Regions from separate parts of the Homo sapiens genome. Here region 1 is linked to region 2. Evidence: promoter capture Hi-C in 16 types of primary human blood cells and fetal thymus (Javierre and others, 2016). All regions are on one chromosome and are shown on one strand. The core of a region is centred on a gene start or on the middle of the fragment in contact, and the rest is flanking DNA. Distances in the headings are between cores, read along the strand shown. Region 1 holds the start of HMGN3-AS1 (HMGN3 antisense RNA 1). Region 2 holds the start of HTR1B (5-hydroxytryptamine receptor 1B).

The links. The method cuts DNA at HindIII sites, captures the fragments that hold promoters and counts their contacts. A CHiCAGO score of 5 or more calls a contact.
Region 1: the fragment with the promoter of HMGN3-AS1 here is called in contact with the fragment with the promoter of HTR1B in region 2 in 1 of 17 cell types (endothelial precursors); the score reaches 6.1 in endothelial precursors.

What each region holds. Positions count from the first base shown.
Region 1 is chr6:79,232,061-79,239,164 of GRCh38, forward strand. It overlaps HMGN3-AS1 (HMGN3 antisense RNA 1), which reads left to right and starts at 1,614. Exons shown (of 2, transcript NR_040671.1): 1 at 1,614-1,867; 2 at 2,002-4,740. It overlaps HMGN3 (high mobility group nucleosomal binding domain 3), which reads right to left and starts at 2,622. Exons shown (of 7, transcript NM_001201363.2): 1 at 2,486-2,622. The coding sequence starts at 2,500. RefSeq lists enhancers at 1,160-1,950, 1,951-2,740 and a silencer at 1,898-1,947. The HindIII fragment of the contact is 3,424 bases long and covers 1,318-4,741 here.
Region 2 is chr6:77,461,409-77,469,113 of GRCh38, forward strand. HTR1B (5-hydroxytryptamine receptor 1B) reads right to left here and starts at 2,083. Exons shown (of 1, transcript NM_000863.3): 1 at 1-2,083. The coding sequence starts at 1,995. The coding sequence ends at 823. All of the region lies in intron 5 of LOC105377864, which reads left to right. RefSeq lists a silencer at 949-1,093 and enhancers at 4,813-4,862, 5,073-5,132. The HindIII fragment of the contact is 3,027 bases long and covers 1-2,467 here.

The sequences.
Region 1 (7,104 bases), core at 364-2,863, 1.8 Mb after region 2:
GGGGCTAAGAAGGCAAAAAAGTACTAGGGGGACATTTTAAAAGCTTATTATATTGTAGAGCAGACAATTCTTTAGTCAAGAAAAATATTGTGTAGTATGTAAATGCTTTGGCAGTTACCCCAGCTTTGAAGATCTTGAAGAGCTATGCATGGATTGTCTCCAGTTCTTTTTTGTATCTAAGCAGGCTTTACCTAATGACAGTGGTTCCTCACATAAGTTCCAGTGAACTTCAGGATTCCATGAGGCTGCTCTAAGACTTGACTGATAGATGGATGGCCATGATCGCCGTGTTTAATCTGAGGTTGTTCCTGCCCAGGTACCAACTGAGGTCGTTAGGCTTCAGGTATAAATGGAAAGCCTTCCTATTAATCAAGGAGAGGTTTTCCATCACCGGAGAACACTCTGATGTCCTCAGGAATGACACACAGGTGCCTGTACACAGTTTTGCCCCTAGTCTCAGGACCATTGGCTAGCTTATGCATGGGGGTTCCCTGCCTTCCAGGGAAATAAAACTGTAGCTGTAATTTTACTGTTATTTTAGTTTTTTTTTTTTTTCCTTCCGTCTCCTTGAGAGAGGCAGACAGGGGAAGTAAGAATAATGGTTTCAGCAGCTCTGGCCCTTGAATAAACAGCAAGGAAGGGTTCCATCGTCAGGGTCCATTATACATAAAGTGTGCACACCTAACCTACTGTTTATGTAAACAATGGTTATAATTCCCAGGAAAAAAAGATGGCCTCCAGCTCACTTACTCTGTAACCCGTATCTTGATGATTAGTTCCTTTGTCTCTACTAGAATTTCCAATCCATCATTAACCCTCAGTCAAAATGCTGAAAATGGTGACATCACTTAATATCCTAATTCTAGTAAAACAGGGCTAGAAAATACCTTCATAAAATTAAGTTTAAATAATAAATCTCAAGTATTAGTGCTCTTAATATGCCATCTGTCTTCTTAAACTGGGAGTACCTTTGGATTTCCTTAATTCCTCTTGACCCACCCTTTCGTAAGTGAGTACGAAATGGGTGAGAATAAGACTTTGGCATCTATAGCATCTGATTAAATCTTTACTAGTAGTTATTGGTTGGTGAGATGCAGGACAATTTATGTCTTTAAGTCCCAGCTGAATGGGGGTAACACCGCTCAAGCTGTTTTCAGGATTAAATGAGATAATGCAAGTCAAATTCTGCACAGCGTGAGGGACACAGTATGTGCACAACAAACTCTAAGACTTTTAAACACTTTCAATTATTTTTAAAAAGTGGGGTAGGAGACAAGTTTCTACCCAATTTTTAGTAATAACATATAAGAAGGGGAAAGCTTTTGAATTTTTAAAACTTCAGTATTTTAAAATAATGCAGTCACTCTCACACACAAATTAGTCCATGGTCTTTGATAAAGCAAGACATTAGGTGTAATTTTGCTTCAAATTTAATACCCACACTCGTTGACACTGTTGGAAACACTGAGGCTGGCGGTGGGAGGGTGCAAAGCACTTGCTTAGGAACCAGCTGAGAAATCCTCACTGATTTCTCAGGGAGGAGGAAACCTTTCCCTTCCCTCCCCGGGACAAGTCGAAGCCCCACCCCGAGGGAGATTTGTGTCCCTGAATGTAGTAGTTGGTGTCCGGGGCCTGCGCAGAAGAGGACAGTCCGCAAGGGGCGGAAGACAAGACAAAAATGACTCCAGTTCGCTAGACGCGCAGAGGGGCGGATAGCGCGCGGACCCCGCCTTCCCCAACCGAGTGTGGGTTCCAGTCGCTGGGGAGGACCTGGTGGCCCCCTGACCTTGGACGAGCCATATTGGACGCCCCGGCGCCGTCCCGTCTTCCACGCTGCCAACTCCACCGCTCCCGCCCCGAACTGCGGGTAGGTCCAGGCCGCCAGGCCCCGCCTCGCCGGCCCCAGCCCTGATTGACACTGGAGTTGGTACATACGGGTCTGCAGCGGAGGCGAGCAGGAGGGTGAGCGCTATTTTAAACATGGCTTTCTCTTTCCCTTAGCCTAGGAGCCACCGCAGCGCACCCAGCCCGCGAGTACAGCCGCATGGGAATAATCCCAACATTTGCCTGATTTATTTTCTTCCCTCTCCTTACGCTTGTACTTGTTTTTCTCCTCTCGCTGTTTTCCCTTCACACTAATTCGCAACCTGGCAGTTTGCAAAGAGGAAACTCCCTTTCGGAATGGAAAGCCGCTTTTGCTTCTTGTTGTTGGGGGTGGAAAACATTCCAGCGAGAATGAGTTCAAAAAGAAGGGAAACCGCGTCACTGGAGAGAAAGTAACATTAAGAGATCGATGAGGACGGAGTGGGTAGGGGGGACAGAGAGAGGAACGTCTGCAACAGGCATCTAAAAACAAGCGTGGAGGAGCAAAGATTCCCAATCCCCGGGTTACTACCGCGCGCGTTCTGCGCGAGCCATTGCAATGCCAGCATTTACTGTAAGCAGAATTTGAAGGCTTTTGAAATCTTTTTTTGGTAAGACTTACCTTTCTCTTCGGCATAATGACTATGTCGGTGAAGCAAAAAGTAAAGCAACGGACTGGAACTGCTGGCGCCGCCGCTGGATGCTGCCTCTGCCTCTGCAGCTGCTCACGCGCAGGGCACGACGTAGCCCGGCCTCTTCGACCTGCACCTCCGCGGCTCCCTCTGGGGGCCCTCTGCTCGCCTCCCTGCTGCTCCAATGAGGAGCCCCGCCAGCCGGCCGCGAGGCCCCATTGGCTGAGGCAACGTTCTAAATTCCACGAGGGCACGCCCACCTCCGCGCGCGGTACGCGCTGTTGTAGTTTCCACTTCACCGAAAAAAATCTGCCTGGCGACTGAGCATGCCCAGTTCAACTAGTAGCCTCCAGGCCACACAATCCTGAAGTTTCATTGTTTCGCTGCTCTCTCTTTGAGATTGTAAGAATAAGAACAGTGTGTGTCTTCATAGGAAGGAAAAAGAGTAAGAATGAATACGTAAACTTTATAATGTAAATATATACACAGCAGGTACCTTATTCATTTCCTACCCATAAAGGCTTTTAATGAATGTTACATGGTGGGAATCTGTAAAGCGTGGGAAGGTACTCTGTACTGGAAGAGCGTGGCAACTTCTAAAGGCCTCAGTTTCCCCCCCTAGATATATAGTGACAACAGTCCCTAAAATCACTTAGCTCTAATTTTCTGAAATCTGTGATTATAAATCACTCACTAATTCAGCTAACTTCAAACTAGATGTGAAGACGAATAGGACATGTTTGTTACGGAAATTAGGAAAAGAAAGAACAAGGCAAAAACTGATTATTTTATATTTGAGACATATATTTGAATGACACCCGTCATGTTACACTTTATGCGTAATATTTCTCAAAGTTCTGCAAGGCATAAAATGAGCATTGCAAAAATATTTCTGAATTCATTTTATGAGACCAGATTTACTCTGATACCAAAACCAGTGAAAGACTTCAAAAGAGAGTTACAGACCAATATCACTCATAAACATAGACACAAAAGTCGTGAACAAAATTTTAGTAAATGAAACTCAACAACATTTAAAGGGACAATACATCATGACCTGTGGGGCTTATCTTGGGAATGCAAAGCTGCTTTTTTAATATCTGAGAATCAATCAATGTAATTGGCAGGATTAATAGAATAAAGGGGGAAAAACAATCCTTTCAGCAGATGCAGGAAAAGCGCTAGTGAATGGGTAAGCAAATTGTGATGAGCACATGCAGTGGAATACTATTCAGCAATAAAAAACAATAAAAAATTTTCCTACATGGATGAATATCAAAAACAAAGTGCTGTACGAAAGAAGTCAAATACAAAAGACCACACTGAATGATTGCATTCATATGAAATTATAGAAAAAGCAAAATTGGGCAAAGTTAGTTTCAGAATCATCTTAGCAGGCAAAGCTCACATCATAGGAAAATGTGTTGAAGCCTTACATTACAAATATGGCCAAATCCACTTTGGTAACACAGAGGCTGCAAATATGTATTAAAAATATCATGTATTAAATATGTATTAAAAAAGCAATGAAGTTTAATATTTCACTTTTTCTTTAGTAATTTTCAGAATACATTAATTGATCTAGTACTCTCCAGAGGTGGTTGATTACTTTCTTTTTTGGAACATCTTTATGAACTCATGGATTTTTACATATTTGGTGTGCATCAGTGTATTGCTATCATTATTATTACCTTTTTAATGCTCCTATTACCACATCTTTAGCCAATGCATACCCTTTCAAATTAGTGCTTGTGTCCTTTTGACATGATCTTAATCATTTTTGATAGATTCCCTGTTCTTGGGCATTCAGTGAATGACAATAGTATACTGAAACGAATTAAGATAAAAACCAATTGCTTAGAGCTAGATAAAAATTTACAAGTTAATAATTTTATCATTAAAATAATATTTATAATGAAGATGTCTTTCAAGATATTAATTTGCCAAATACTTGATAGTTAAATAAAGAAAAAGTCAGTGAAAACATTTTTAGTAAGATATGTGTGAGAAGGATACTGAGTAGCACTTGCAATCTGGACTGGATGGCTATTTTTCTTCATGGAGATGGAAAGGTGCCACAACAAAGGTAGTGCTAAGGTGAATATTTCTCCTCTGTGATGAAAAATAACTCACAAAATTGGCTTCTTTGTTAATTTTTTTTCAAAACCAAACACTCAGATCATCAACAGCAAACAAAATTGTGAATGTTTTTACTGCACACAATAAAAATGCTACGATGAAATTGAAGCTTGCTTGTTGGATGAAGAAAGCTGATTGTGAGGACCTCGAGTTCTTGGAATCTTTAGTTCATTTACAAGTTATGAAAATAACAGCTTCGGTTGAAAAACAACAGCATTGCTTATCTTTCCTTTGATGTAGATTGCACCTGGCTGAGCACTACTCTAGGAAATGAAGTGTTCTCCCTTGTACCTTTAGTAGCCTTCAAGATCTGGGAAAGTCAGTGCAAACCTCTACTGGTGGCCCTGGAGGTAAGAAGAGTAGGCAAAGAGAATGATTTAGCAGGTAGCTAGAATTCTAGGTTAAGAGATAAAGACATCTGGGCAGAAATGAGGGTGTCACATAGAAGACAGTGAGGAGGTCAAGCTGGTAAGAAGTACAGACTCATTTGTTTATCAATATATTCCACTGAGCATTTCTACTACTTTGGAATATCAGCCTCTAAGACAGTAAAAGTAGGATGTATATACTATCTTAGCTAAGGTAGACCTGGATAAATTAACAGAGTTACTGACTGAGACAGAAAGAAAAAAAATAGTGAACAAACTTGTTTTCCAATTCCAGCTCCTCTCCTCTTTTGTCCTACTCAAAACTGTTGGAACTGTACACCTACTTCACATTTTTCAATCAGCAGGGCAAAACCATTTATAGTGTCATGACTATCATTAAGGAAAAGAAAGAGACAGAGACATTGACAGACACACACACGCAAACACACACACAGAGAGAGAGAGAGAGAGAGGGAGAAGGGAGAAGGGAAGGCTAAGAAAAGCAAAGAAAGGGCCAAGCATAGAAAATAGCAGAGTATATATGGTAAAGGTAAGTAATGTTTCATAAGATAATTGTTTCTATTTTCCATATGTGCTCATATAAACACATACACAACACAGATATGTATGTGTGTATGTTGGATTGTGACATGAAATATATTTTTAGTATGGTCTTGGTCAAAAAAATTGAATGCCACTGCTAATGAATGTTGTGGATCTTTGACATTCCGAAAAAAAAATGCTTAATATTAAAATTTTTTTTTTAGAGGTAAGATCTCATTCTGTTGCCCAGGCTGGCATGCAGTGGCACAATCATAGCTCACTGCACGTCAGACTGCTGGGCTGAAGAGATCCTCCTGCCTCAGCCTCCTGAGTAGTTATATAGGTGCAAGCCACCACACCAGGCTTGAGAGGAAGTTTTCAAGGGAAAGAATGACTTGCAGATCACCTCCTTCTTGAACTGTCCCTCTTTTCCTCTTTCAGGCAGACACAGGCAGGGTCCCTTAGGCTTTTGCTGTAAGTAATGACAAATTACTGGAGAAGTCAGATCCAGAATGTACATATTGTTGCTTTTGATAGTTGCAACTGTACACCTACTTTGCATTTTTCAGACAGCAGGGCAAAACAAATGATAGTCATGACTATCATTAAGGCAAAGAAAGAGACAGAGACATTGGCAGACAGACACACACACACACACACACACACACAGAGAGAGAGAGAGAGAGAGACAGACAGAGGGAGAAAGGAAGAAAGGGGAAAAGTGAAAATGATACTGTGTTGCTTCTGATAGTTTGTAATTCCAGATTAAGTTACTAATCTTCCATAAATAGGTCAAAAAATACACAGTGAAGAATTCAGGTGTGTAACAAAACAACATCAAAAACAACAAATAAGAGGTGGCAAAAGAATATTTTGTTTGTATTTTCCAGTCAAGTCTCTACTTTGATTGGGTGCTAACTTTTGAAGAGACCAAGGTTAGTTTTTACAAAGCAACAATAAGAGTCCAAGAACTAACGGTCCCAAATCAAATGAGCTGCCTGATATTAGTGCAGATCCCTAGGCCCCAGTCCCAAGGTATTGAATGGCTAGGCTTGGAAATCTGCATTTTCAAACAAGCTTTTCATGTGTTGCTTACACTATAATTCGGGGACTAGAGTATTTAATAGACTAGGCCCTTGCTCTCAACAAATATTTGCTGAATGCCGGTACTTGGATTCTGATGACAGGTATCTATAAAAGCCTGTGGAGTTCTCAACATACTTCCAGAGCAGGAGCGTAATTCTGTGGGTGAAACTCGCCCCACAGTCCTCACCTCATGCTTTTGCTCCATCTCAGTTTTGCTGGGCACAACCTGTTTATTTCACTTTCTTTCTCTTCTGTAGTTGCAAGGAACCTGAAGAGTGATTAAAAACTGCACACATCCAGATACCTAGAAAAGTGTCTTCTTCTTCCCAGGCAGCCCCTCTAGGCAGCTCCTTGGGCCCCTGGGAGATGAAAATCCCTGATCCCAAATCCTCAAAGGGAACTTACCTTGGCCAAAGCCCATAAGCCACACCCTTTCAAGGCTAAATGTCAATGATTGCATAAGCATACTTCAC
Region 2 (7,705 bases), core at 833-3,332:
GCACTAGCACACATAATGGTTTGTTTGTTAGAGTTGTGGCTTGACAATCGCTAAACAGGAATTACAAAATTGTAAATCTGCAGAAAACAAACAATCATAGGTGTTGATTCTCAGTTTAACACTCCTCATCTCCCATTCCCACCCACCCACCCCCATATAGTTTCAAGTATAATAAAAATAGAGATCTCAGCATCAGAATTTTGCTGTTAACTCTTCAAGGTTTCTCTGCGCCATCCAAGCCACACATAGGGTTTGAAGCACCAAATCCACAAGTTTCTCCAACCAAGTTTAAATAGACAAAAAGTGAAGACTGAATGATGCCAAAGTAACTGTTCTTAAATTAAGCTGTAACACAAAGTTCTCCCCCCAAAAACACAGGGCATTAAGCGTCTAGTTCAAGTACTGCCAGGCTGTATGTAGATCTGTCTCAGACAGGCTTCAGACAACAATTACAAGTACACTGCTTCTAGTGGGCATTATCCACGATACCAAAGCAGGGCAGGGATTCCCTTCCATTATCAATTTTTAAAAGTTGCAACCCCCTTTGGGATTGGCTGCCGCAGGGTCAGTGCTGAGCCCGGGGCTTGAGGGGAGGAAGTGAGCCTCCTCCTGGGCAGGGAAGCTCTACATTTAGTTTCAACACTTCTCCTTTCAGAGCTCTCTCTCAGGACTATTCTGGCTTCTCAGGATCCATTGCCCTTGCCCAGGAGAGAGAGCCTCGCTGGGACCCAGAAACCGCGAAAGAAGATTCGACCTACCTGTGGAACCAGACACAACTTGGTCCCCAAAGGTCGCTTAGGCGACCCCACTGCAAACGGCAAGTCAACTTGTGCACTTAAAACGTATCAGTTTATGGAATGCTTGTTTAAAGTCCTCATTGGACATGGTATAGATTATGGGGTTGATGAGGGAGTTGAGATAGCCCAGCCATGTGAAGAAGTCAAAGATGGCTAGGTGGAACCAGCAGGCATCTTTGCAGATAGGCATCACTAGGGAGATGATGAAGAAGGGTAGCCAACACACAATAAAGGCTCCCAAAATGATCCCTAGGGTCTTGGTGGCTTTGCGCTCCCTAGCGGCCATGAGTTTCTTCTTTTCCAGCAGGGCGTCGGAGACTCGCACTTTGACTTGGTTCACATACACAGGAGATCCGGATTCGCTGGGCACGTCGGGAACCCGCGAGTTAATAGAGGTGACCGAGGACGTGGACCCGGGGGAGTCGGTTATCAGCTGGGCTCGGGTCAAGCGCTTGCCGGTCCTGTTGGGCGTCTGTTTCAAAATCCGGGAGCGGGCTTCTACGTAGATGCGGCCATAGAGGGCGATGAGGAGCAGGGTGGGGAAGTAGAAAGCACCCACCGTGGAGTAGACCGTGTAGAGGATGTGGTCGGTGTTCACCACGCATTCCGACACCTCCTCTTCGGCCTTAGCCTGACGCCAGAAGAAGGGCGGCAGCGAGATAGAGATGGAGAAGACCCACACCAGCGCGATCATGACCGCCGCCCTCTTGGGAGTCCTTTTAGCTGAGTACTCCACGGCGTCCGTGATGGCCCAGTAGCGGTCCAGGGCGATGACACAGAGGTGCAGGATGGAGGCAGTGCAACAAGTGATGTCCGACGACAGCCAGAAGTCACAGACCACCTGGCCCAGTGTCCAGCGGCCGGTGACAGTGTACATGGTGCTGATGGGCATCACCAGGATGGACACAAGCAGGTCGGTGACCGCCAGAGAGGCGATCAGGTAGTTAGCCGGGGTGTGCAGTTTCCGGGTCCGGTACACTGTGGCAATCACAAAGGCATTGGAGAGCGTGGTGGCCAAGGTGATGAGCGCCAATAGCATAACCAGCAGTACTTTCCAGGGTAGGGAGATGGAGTCCTGGTAAATGTAGTCCTTGGCGCTGCAGTTTTGGGAGGGAGCAGAGGATAAGTTGGCTTGAGGAACCCAGGTCTCGGAGCCCGCGGGCGGCGGTGGAGCGCACTGAGCACCCGGTTCCTCCATGGCTCTCCTCGCCCCAGCTCCGGAGCGCAGCTCTTGGGCATGGAGCGGACGAAGGAGAGGGCGGAAGGACCGTGGCGATCGCAGGTTTGTCCCCAGTTGATAGTTCCGTGAGTTCCTCAATTATTCCTCCGCCCAGGTTCACAGCTGAAACTAGAGGTCATGGGTGCGGCAGCCAAGGCAGGCGGGCGCCTCCCCTGCACTTCCAGAGCGCCTAGCTAAGCCGCCGCGTCTGTGGTTGTTCCTCTCCACACCGGGTCTTAGACCTGGGTTGCTAAGAGCTGGCCCACCGAGCCCTGCTCCGCTCCAGCTCCCTGGAGGCGTCTAGTGCAGGAGGGTGAAGTACTGCTTGAGGAGAAGGCTTTGACCAAATGGGATCTCTTACCCCAGTTGCTTGAGGCTGAGCGTCTCCTAACCTGGACGCTTTTGGATCTGCAGACTTTGCCCACAGGAGTTTCCTAGGTGTAGAGACCAAAGCTTGCAGGCCAGCGAGAGGTCCCGAGATCTTGCATTCCCACCCCTCGCCCCAAGCTGGGGCACTTTTGGGGGGCTGCAGCGGCCGCCAGAGCTGGGTGGGGTGAAGTCTAGGAGCAGCGCTGCGCCGCGCCTCGCGCCGGAGCTCTGCCCTCCCTCTCTTTTCACTCTCTGGCCACTCGGACGAGCTGCCCCGCGGAGACGGAGCCATAAAAGGGGGGACACGGGGGCTGGAGTTGCGGCTGCTCGGGCCGCGCCGCCGCCACCGCCACCCTGGTCCCACGGGAGCCACTCGGAGCCATGCCACTGGGTGCGCGGGTCTGGAGGACCTGGCGCGGCACACTGGGAAGGGGCAGGTGTCTGGGGGAGCTGGAGGGACGCGGCGTGCACCAGCCCGGGAGAAGCGTGCGAGCTACGGAGCAGATGGGCTCTTTATATAGAGTCCAGGTCCGGTCCGCCAGAGCAGTGCAACTCGTGCGGCGCGGCGGGTGCGGACGCCCGCTCCCCATCACCTTCCCTTTTTCTCTCTCCCTCCCTCTTTTCCCCCCGCCCTGTTCCTTTCCTGGCCAAGGAAGCTCCCGCCGGGTCCTACCGCCCTATCTCCCCGCTTCCCACCCTGGGCCATCCTCCCAGCCCTGACAACCTGGAGCTGCATTTCTGGTCAGGGGAAGAAGGCGTCCTGTTCTCGCCTCTACGGACATCAGAGCTTGCTGCGCTGACCTCCAGTGAGACCCATGTCCTTAGCCATGGTCACAGGTTTAGTCCAGCAGTCTGGCCCTAGGCTCCTGCCTACCACTCCCACCCTAGGAGGCCAGTGTTAGGCGGGGAAGCCCTGGTCTCTGACCTCTCCGCTCTAAAATCATATCCAGCCCTGATGGCCACACCCAGGTTAGGAGGCACCAGTAATATCGCTGTAGAGGGCCCAATGTTTGCATTTTGTACTTTGCCGTCCTTAACTCTTGATACAATAAAAACTATTTTTTCATCTAGTTTTAGAAATTTGTGTTTTTCACTCAACTATGAGTCAACAGGGAAAAAGACAAGCTATCTGCGAAAATGTAAAAGTTATCACAAACAGAAGCCAACTGTATGTGAAATTAAACCTTCTGCTCCACCATCCTCTTCCAGCTGCTCAGTGCTTCAGTGCCTCTGGAAAACAGTTGCCAGTAAGCGTGTTCCTTCCAACAGCCTACCTAGAAAGGAGGTCATCAGAATTCAAGAAAAAAGGGGGATGGTGGGGCGGGGAGGACTGGAACCATCATCAGCACCATCTTGTGTGTCTCCTTTGCCTTCAACTAATATGTGGGAATGTCAGCCATAAGCTGCAGCATGCAATACCAGTACCTAGGTCTCATGACCAGGGACGGATCCCCTGTCCTCAGTTTCTCCTCTGACCTCAACAGAAACAAATGTAGGGTAGAGATGCAAATCAGAAAGTATGAAGAAAAGCTCCAGGAAAGGACAAGGTATTTTCAGCTCGAAGGATTAAATGATCCCCACTACGAATTCCTAGAGCCTAGATCCATGTTTGGCACCTAGAGTGTATCTAATAAAAACTGCATTGTAAATGAATTCATCTGTTTAAGCGCACATATATTTTAAAGAGAATCATTCTGTGTCAGAACCTAAGGCTATCTGATCTGATCCCTCCACCCAGTTTTAGAGGAAGAGTAATTGAGATCCTTTGAAAGAAGAGCTTTTTACCCAAGGCAATAAAGCACAAACCCAAGTTCCCTTAATTCCCGGTTCTCTAAACCAGGCAAGCAGGCAAAAAATAGAGTGCCTACTCTATGCTGAGTATTTTTCTAGGCATCCGAGGTATGGAGGCCAGTGGGAGTAGACTCAGACCCTCTTTTCCAGCAGTTTACATTCTAGAAGAGACAGACAATAACTACATGAACAAGTAAATAATTAATACTTATACTTTTCTGTAGTGTTAAGTGTTTTGAAGAAAAACACACATACACACATGCATGCATTGAGAGTGAGGGTACTCCTTTAACTAAGGTGGCAGCTCTTCAAGGACGTCCTCTAGATGCGGTCTGGGCTGCAGCAGCCACCCTGAGGATAAAAGCACAGCCTTCTCTCTTTTTCTCCTCCAGTCCTAGCACCTAGCATTTTGCCACCAACCTTAAGCCTCATTTTCACCACATTTTAAGGGATCCTTCCCATTCTCCCACCCCATCCACCTAGATAAACAATTATTTTTGTCAACTGCAGCGCTCACTTAGAAACCATAGAAGAGGGAAGCAAAGCCGGCGAGTTTAAACCGCTAGGTGGGGGCATTGGCCAGGACGGATCAAAAGTGTGTGCGATTGCGGGTGTGTCCTGTGGGAGTGCGGGGTGCCAGGAAACAATTTTCCCGTTATCCTAGGAGAACTGGAAACGATTAGAGACAAGTGTTAAAGGGATGGGAAGCGGGGGAAGGCCGACAGGAATGTAACCAGCTCCATGCGACCTTTCCTCTTTTAATTTCTGCTCGGGAGCATGGGACGGAGAAAAAACAAAGCAAAATTTGTTCCCCACACGGTTTTTGGCTTTAGCGGTTTGGGGACCTGTGGCTTTCTCCAGCCATGCCTCCACTGCTTCGCAGAGTCCCAGACTCCCAGAGGAATCCGCCCCTTGTAGGCAGTTTGATTTTACCCTCTTTGGTAAAGAGCTGCTTAAACACACACCGCCATCATATTGACCGGATGTTGGCAGAGTTCAGTGAAGAACCCCATTTCCTTAACCTGACTTCCGCATTTCAAGTATTCCTTTCTCACTTTAAAACACATAAAACATAGGTGTTTGCACAGAGGCGCATGTGTGTGAAACACCCAAGAGAGAAAGAGACCCTGTAAAGTCGCCTGTGCCTGGGTCACCCCTTCGGAGTAGGGGTCGCTGGGTAAGGTCCAAGTGCCAGCTCTGCAGTCCCCAGCGGCGCTAGAAGGAACCTCCAGGCAAGTTTTGGGGGAAATTCACCTGACAGGGGAGGAGCAGAGAGGGAATCAGTAGCGGAAGGGAAAGGGTGGAGATGGATTACCTGAGCGCAGCAAAACTTAGTTGAGTAGAAATAAGCTCCCGTATGAACACCGGGCACTAAAACTGCGAATTAATGTGGTTCCCTTATTATCAATTCCACGCACGTGTACGTTTGGCAGAAGCTGAGTAAGTGGAGAATAACTCTGGAACTGAAATGAAGTCAGTGAACCGACACAAAACCAGATCCTAGCGGTGAGCTGGCTGCGGAGGAACCAAAGAAAAATGAATCCTCGAGGAACCCTCTCCCATGCTAGGAAGATGTAGTTCTACAGCTGCAGCACCAAATTCGAGGCGCAGGCTGGGAAGTTTAAAGCGCAGCGCTAACCAGACTGGACACTGTCAAGGGAAGCATACTCTGCCTACAGCAACCACAAGAGATATCTCACGGAATTTATTGCAACTCAACTCTATGTAAGCTGGCAGTCAGCTAACCTTAGTCAGCCCTAGCCAGCTCTCTTGCCTGCGGCGACTGAGTCTTGCTTTCAGCATCCCTAGAGTCTTCCATCCAGAGAGTAACTATTGAAAGAGGTCCAGGCCCAGGAGCAAAGAAAGTCCTGATTTTATCTTTGCTTTGCTGAAAGAAAAACGTTAGAACACTCATGCGCCTGTCACTTTTCTCCTTTGATACAGGAAAATACAACCCCGCACTCACCATCCCACTGCTTGAGAAATCTGGTGTGGAGGCCTGTCTTGCTGCTTCTTTCAAATTCTGCTTCCTCCATCTATGGCCAGCATATATATATATATTTTCACTTCAGAAACGGGCAGCAGGAGACCACCAGCTCATGTGTGCACCATCCTAATGTGTGCTGGCAGCCCATTTCTAGGTTTATCTTATACTTCCTCCAGTAACTATTCCTTAAAGAACTGACTGATGGCAATGAAACTATCAGGTCCACCCAGTGACTTGGTTCTTACCATCCTTTGTGACTTCCTTGATGAAAACTATGAAAATGTTCAGATAAATGACCATATACATACATAGATATACATGTAATTTTTGCGGACAAATTCTGAGGATTTCCAAACCATATGAGGCCCAGATCCCTTTCCATATTCATTGGCCCTCACATTAGGCCTTTGACCTGATATTTGTGTCATGGTATTTACATTCCATCTGTTTTATTAGAAATTTTGAGGTCTTTCTTACCAAATAATGAAGGCAGGTGCTTTATTCCCTAAATGTTAGTTTGGTGTAACTTAATCCCTAAAAATTGGTAATTCTCCTATGTGTCTATATATGGATACAAATATCATGTAAGCCATATTTCTATTTAAGGAAGAATGCAAACAAAACTTAGAGCAAATATATATAACTTAGACATTTTTAATACCTATCTCCATATGAATAAACACTTTGCTACTTTGAACAGATACTTGCAACAAGTAACTTACTACTGGTTCAAAGATAGCCCAGATCCAACTAGAAGAGCCAGCTCCCAATTAAGATCTAATCACATATTTCCTGGCTGAAGACGTAGGTCTTCAAAAAAAAATTCTATTTTACAGCTACTATTAAGTAATGTAAGTAAGGTTACATAGAGTATGGTGTGCTGAATTTTTTTTTTCTTGGACAGAGTGAGATTTGGCAATGAGAAATATCTGAATGAAAAAACAATGCCAATAAATCCACCAAACTTACAAACAACTTGCTTTTTTAAGTTGGCAGTGTAATTAAGCAGCTCTGTTCAAGATGAAGTCTCTCTTGAAAAACCAAACCAAACAATTTGATGGTGAAGTTATCTTTCAGCCTAAGTGACGAAGCAATAGAAATGCAAAGTCTTTATTTTCAAACAAATAAAGAAAAGTCAAAACACTTATTTTGCCGAAGAAAAGCAAAATTCTTAATTTCAAACAGGAAAAATGACATCACTCTCTGGTGCTTTATTGCTTCTTTACCTGTCATTCATGAATAAGAATCATTATCCTTTATTGAACACAATATACTAAGCCATATGCTATGTATTCTACATACATTCTTACACTTATTTCTTATAACACTGAGAGTTGTCATTATCATTCTCATTTTCGGGATAAAGAAGTTGAGGCTTAGAGAATTGAAGTAATTTTGCCAATGTCAGACAGCTGGTAAGTGATAGAATCAATTTTCAAGTTCAAGTCTCTAATTTCAAGTTACAACCATTGACCAGTATTCTACACTGGATCGGCCATGCAGCTCAGCGTAGCCACCCATTTTGCTCACCTGACCATGACT